Linked DNA regions of Homo sapiens: region 1 is linked to region 2. Evidence: promoter capture Hi-C in human tissues and cell types (Jung and others, 2019). All regions are on one chromosome and are shown on one strand. Each heading gives the region's core, a stretch centred on a gene start or on the middle of the fragment in contact. The rest is flanking DNA. Distances are from core to core; before and after follow the strand shown. Region 1 overlaps PCBP3 (poly(rC) binding protein 3). Region 2 holds the start of PCBP3 (poly(rC) binding protein 3).

Region 1 (3,159 bases), core at 275-2,774, 91 kb after region 2:
GGCTTGAGCCACTCTGCCCTGCCTTTTGTCATTATTTTTTAAAATATGTTTTTGGCTTGTCCCATCCCCTGCTTCTGGGTCTCCAATTACACATATATTTTTGTCTTTTGGGAGTAGAGAATCTTTATCTGTGTTTTATTTTAGGTAGTTTCTGTCTGCACAGATTATTCTGTCTGTACATTGACTGATCTTTTCTTTTGTGGTCTAATATGGTGTTAATCCCAGTCAGTATATTTTTTTAAATCTCAGATGTATTTTTCATCTCTGCATGCTTGATTTGTGTGTTTTAAAAATACTTTTCTTGTCTCTCCTTAGCATTTTATGCTTTCCTGTATCATCTTCTACATATACAATGTATTTATGATAGATGTTTTATTTATTTATGTATTTATTTTTTGAGATGGATTCGCTCTGTCGCCCAGGCTGGAGTGCAGTGGTGCCATCTCGGCTCACTGCAAGCTCCACCTCCTGGGTTCACGCCATTCTCCTGCCTCAGCCTCCCAAGTAGCTGGGACTACAGGCGCCCGCCATCATGCCTGGCTAATTTTTTTGTGTGTATTTTTGGTACAGACGGGGTTTCACTGTGTTAGCCAGGATGGTCTCGATCTCCTGACCTCATGATCTGCCCGCCTCGGCCTCCCAAAGTGCTGGGATTACAGGCATGAGCCACCGTGCCTGGCCTATTTATTTATTTATGTATTTATTTATTCAAATGGAGTCTAGCTCTGTCACCCAGGCTGCAGTGCAGTGGTGCGATCTTGGCTCACTGAAGCCTCTACTTCCTGGGTTTAAGCAATTCTCCTGCTTCAGCCTCCCAAGTAGTTGGGATTACAGGTGCCCACCACCACGCCTGGTTAATTTTTGTATTTTTAATAGAGATGGGATTTCATCATGTTGCTCAGGCTGGTCTTGAACTCCTGACCTCGAGTGATCTGCCTGCCTCTGCCTCCTAAAGTGTATAATAGCTGTTTTAATGTCTTTGTGTACTAATGATCTCTGTGTGTATAATTTCTGAGTTTGTATCTTACTGATCAACCAATCTCATTATGAGATATATTTTTGTGCTTCTTTGCATGCCTCGTCAGTTTTGGACGGATGAAAGACATCGTAAACTTTGTATTGTTGGACTCTGCATTCTTTTAAAATATTTTGAACTATGTTTTGGAATGCATTTAAGTTACTTGGAAAGTTCAGATTTTTTGGCAGCTTGTTGCTGACTTTGTTAAGCATTGCCTAGTGTAGTACCCCAGCTTAGTCTGCTGCCAGTGCAGTCATTTGAGTGCTCAGTGTGGTGTCCCCTGTACTGCAAGGCTCCTGCAGCCTAGTTGTTGGGAGTAGGAACTCTTCCCAGATCTGTGTGAGCCATAGCTATTGTCTGTACTTTTTCTTTTCATTGGTTCTTCCCCCGACCTCCTGTAGTCCACTCACTCACATGTGCCCATCCATGTCCAGGCAGAGACTAGAGAATCCACCACAGACCTCTGGGATGTTTCTCTGTGCAGGGCATTCCTTTCTGGTACTCTGCCCTCTAATTCTAGCTTTTGCCTCCTGTGCTGTGGGGTCCTGAGTGCAGTGCATCCTGATGAGACGGTGCTGCAGGCCCAGCCCACCGACTTCCAGAGATGTCAGTTGCATCTCTCCCCTTTCCTCTCTGCCTTTGCCTCCCTGAATTCTCAACTCCGTTTCCAACTCCCCTGGCCTTGCCTGGGTTCCCCCTTCCTGTGCTGTGGCCCAGGCACTCTCCCCAGGCTGTAGGCTGCAGCAATTGTAGGATGCAACCCATTTGCTTCCCTTCTCTGGGGATCGTTGTCCTGTGCTGCCTGCTGCTCCATGTCTGAACACCCTCGTCTCATATCTTTTGTCTGACTTTTAAGTGAGGTGGGAGAGTCATCCCAGTCTCACTCTTTCTCTGTCACAGCTGACCATGGTCCAGGCTTTCTTATGTTTCTGTAGTCTTTGGACATCACTGGACAGAGGCCGGCTGTCTGTCTGTAGGAGTCTCTGCGCGGTGTTCACCTGCTAATTCAGTCTGCACAGGGAGAACCCTTGGCCTGTGGTCCAGGTGAAGGCCCTTCAGGGTGGAGCCGAGACTGTGGGTGTTCTGGGCTGTCCCGTCCCGTATACTCTCCCTGTGTTCTTACCTTCCCCTATAGATTCAGAGGGATTTGAGAATCAGCTGTGCCCCAGACGTCAGTCAGGCCGAGGACTGTGGGTCAAGGTTCAGGGACCCTGGGGTTCTGAGTCTTTATCAGTGTCGTGTATGTTCCAGACTCAGTTTAGAATTGAATCACTTTTTATGGAATTCTTTCTCTGGGAAACTGTCTTTGACCTTCCCAATAACTGATTTATAAACATGTCTTTTTAATAGATGACTTTGGTTTGATAAAATTTGGTATCTAAGGTGATAGATTGTGATTTCTGTCTCTCTTTGGAAAGCCTATGATTTCCAATTTTAATTGTTTTTTCCTTCAACTGTTTACAGGACTGTCTACAAGAGAGAAGCTCCCCACGTGGTTCCGTGTAAGTAGTGCTTCTTATGATGCTGTCACAGGCGATATTTTTAGACTAAACGACTCTTTCGGTGTCAGCAGAGTTGAAAGTCTTGCTCTCAAGGGAAGCTGTGTGTCTCTGCTGACCCTCTGGATCCTGGTTTTATGTCTCATGGGGAACCTGCCTCAGGTCACACTACTGCCAAGAGCATGTAGTGTGAGTGACACGCGTTTTCCCTTCTTGCTTCTGTGGAACCAAAATTTTAAAAGAGGCAGTTTCCTCCCTCTCTGGTAACCTTTCTCCACAGTTAACCTGACCATGTAGACCAGCAGGAGCTGGAGGGCCAGTTGTTAGTGCACTTGGAGCCTACTGCACGAGCCTACCGCACAAGCCTACCGCACGCCTTTGTTCTTGTGCCAACAGTGCCCACTGCCCGGTAGTGCCTGTGTGTGCGGTGGCCATGATGGCACCACAATGTCTGAAGCCACACAGTGCATGGGTGACATCTGTGGAAAGGACCTGGCACCGGCCAGCACACAGAGGCACTCACCTGTCTCACACAATGCACTGTGGTCCCAATTCTAGTTTTGTAAAACTACCTTGAGATGACTCCTTTTAAAATTATCCTTAAGATGTCTTTCTTTTTCTAAAGCTTATTAAAGGTCATTT
Region 2 (2,857 bases), core at 291-2,790:
GTGCTCGGGGGGCCGCGTGGGGTCTGTGACGTCGCCTCGAGGCTGCATCCCGGTGACCCGGCAGCCCCTGGCGCTCGCGGGAGGCGGGCGGGCGCGGACCCCAGGCTTTAGGGCGCGATTCCTGCAGCTGGCTGCCGGCCCGAGGTTCTGGGGTGTCTGAGGTCTCGGGCGGGGCGAGGACGTTTCTCCGGCTCAGCCCCCCCACCTCCTGCCCTGCCGCCCCCCACACCCAGCTCCCCACGGACGCCAAGAGGCGCCTCCCACCCCGGCGAGGACCCGCGGGGAAACGGGGCCCAGGCGCGGCGACTGCGGAGGACGCGCCTCGGCCCCAGCGCCCTGGTCCTCGGGGCGTCCGGCTGCCCTTGCCCGAGGCCGGGGCGGGCGCTCAGCGCCGCGGAAGAAACGCCCGGGCGGGGACGCACAGCGAGGCGGGCTCCGCGGGAAGTACCGGGAAAACGGCGCGGAGCGGAACAGCCCGGAGCCAGCCCAGAGAAAGGGCGGCCTCCCCCTGCAGCCCCCGGGGCCCAGCAACGCCCCGCCCCAGGCCACGGCACGCGAACGCCGGGCGGGCGGAGGGGACAGGGCGGCGGGACCAGCGCGGGGCGGGCAGCGTCTGGGCACAGGCTCACGAGCCGCTCGGGGCCCCTGCCCGCCGGGCGCTGCGGCCCCAGCCTCCGGGCCGGGGCCAGGCCCACAGAGAACGGGAAGCGGGCGCTGCAGGGGGACCTTCGGGGTTGCGGCACGGCTGGGAATTCAACGGCCATTCCCGTCCCGTCGGGCCCACCCGCCCGCCCGCCAAATCCCCGCCCACCGCGGATCCGCCCCGTCCACCAAGGTCTCGCTCACCAACGGCCCGCCCCGCCCACCACAGGCCTGGCCCGCCCACGAAGGCTCGCCCCGCCCATCCACGGCCCTGCCCACCACAGGCCCGCCCCAAGCCTGGGCCCCGCCCCAGCAAGGGCACTAATCCCCTAACCCCCGAGCCCCGCCCACTGCTCTTGCCCTTCTCCCGCCCGCCCCGACTTAGGCCTCTCCCCGGCCTGGCCTCCCGTACTCAGCCCCGCCCCTGCCCCGCCCCCACCCCACCCCAAATGTGACCTGCCCCTCCCACTGCCCGTCCCCTCCCCGCTTCACTTCATTAGGCCCCCGCCCCGATTCTTGCCCCGCCCGCTCAATGTCCCGCCTACGACCCCGCCCACTACTAGTGACCGGCCCGCCCGTTCGAGGCCCCGCCTCCTCCCCGCCCAATGCTCGGCCCCGCCCCGCGCGTCATTGGGCCAGGTCCCCGCCCCGCCCCCAGCCCCACCCCCGCCCCTTTGACTGGAGTTGGCTTTTTCCAGAGAACTTTCCGGGCTCGGATTGGCCGCGCCGGTTGATGTTCCGCCCTTTCATTGGCCCGCGGCGCCCGCTTTCGCGAGCCTGCCCTTGGGCGGGGGCGGGGCCGGCGGCGGCGCGCGGCGCTAGATTGGTTAGCGGCGCAGAGGGGCGGGCCCGCGCCGCGCGCAGCGCTCGGGCTGGAGCGCCTGAAGCCGCGACCGCCGCCTCAGCCGCCTCAGCCGCGGTCGCCGCCGCTTCGGCTGACTTAGGCTCCGCCGCCGCCTCCTCACCCGCCTCGCCCCGACCCCGCCCGGGCCTCCCGGCCTCTCCCCGCCGGCCCGCGGGCTCGCCGTCCGGCGCAGGGCAGGTGAGTGAGCGGTGGCGGGCGGGGTCGGGGTCGGGCGCCCTTGCGGGTTACGGGGACCCAGTCCCCGACGGAGGCCGAGTGACGGGGCGACCCCGGGCCGCGGCAAACTTCGCCCGAGCCGGGGCGGGCGGGGGTCCCGGGCTGGGTCGCGCCGTCCCCGACCGCCGCCGGCGCCTGCGGCGGCCCGGGGCAGCGAGGGGACTCGCGCTCCCTCAAGGTGCGGTCGCCAGGCCTGGCCCGCCCGCCTCCGCCCCCTCCCCAAATTCGGAAGTTGCGGCGGGAAGCCGAGAACGTCTCGGATGTGGGTCAGAAAACGTCTGGACTACTTGAGGCTTCAGTTTCAAAACGGCACAAATTTCATCTCTTGATTGAGAAGAGATCTGGGGAACACCCCGGAGCGGCCGCGGCGGCTGGAGGGCGGCGGGGCGGGGCGCGGGGCCTCCTCCCCCTGGACGGCCGCCGGGAGAGCGCGGCCTCACCCCTCGGTGACCCTGCGGAGAGCCGCGCGCGGGCGGTGGGGCGCGCGCAGGTCTCTCTTGTTGCTCGCTGTGTTTTATTTTAATTTTGGGGGTGGTTAGAACGTGTTTCTTATTGTCCCCACACGTGTTCTAATTGGAAGTCTTGTTTCGTGAAAGAGTTTTTTTCTTTTTTTTGCCTGGTGATGTTTTCCAATTCCCTCCGCGCCACTCTGAAGTATATTACTGGCATAAGAAATTTGAAAGTTAACCAAAAGTCGGGTCCTAAATCTCGTGGCTCGGGGTTGGTTATCTTCCACCGTCCTTCAGAGCAGCCTGGATTTGCAGGTCTTGTTAGCCCTCCATGTGAGCCAGTAGCACTCTTAGTTGTTGAGTGTTTGTAGAGTGGGATTCGCCAGAAGGAATCTTGAGCAGCAGGGCCTTGCGGAGAGGCCTTTAGAGATTAGACTGGGCAACTTATAGACTCCCCCCATTTCAAAAATATTCCTCTGGCACAGGCCCTCACATATCCCTCTGAAATTGAACTCACTTTCAGGGGCAAACTGTTGCCCTTTTTCTTTTCTTTGGACTTTCTCAGATGTGGATCCCAAAGGAGTGTGCAAGGGTGCTTCCCTATTTAAGAGAACTAACTCCCAGTCCTCCTCATATTCAAGAATAATTCATCATCTTAAAGCGTGTCAGAGATACCTATTTTGGC

Evidence for each region. The method cuts DNA at HindIII sites, captures the fragments that hold promoters and counts their contacts. A contact is called where the count stands out against the background at its distance.
Region 1: a contact is called between a fragment that was not itself captured here and the fragment with the promoter of PCBP3 in region 2, in 8 of the 25 tissues and cell types used here (H1 embryonic stem cells, IMR-90 fibroblasts, dorsolateral prefrontal cortex and 5 more).

The regions. Positions count from the first base shown.
Region 1 is chr21:45,732,910-45,736,068 of GRCh38, forward strand. It overlaps PCBP3 (poly(rC) binding protein 3), which reads left to right. Exons shown (of 18, transcript NM_001384156.1): 3 at 2,483-2,520. Among named protein-coding and RNA genes, the nearest start is that of PCBP3, 91 kb to the left of the region's middle. The HindIII fragment of the contact is 8,113 bases long and covers 1-3,159 here.
Region 2 is chr21:45,642,185-45,645,041 of GRCh38, forward strand. It overlaps PCBP3 (poly(rC) binding protein 3), which reads left to right and starts at 1,541. Exons shown (of 18, transcript NM_001384156.1): 1 at 1,541-1,684. RefSeq lists silencers at 746-1,735, 2,056-2,195. The HindIII fragment of the contact is 13,348 bases long and covers 1-2,857 here.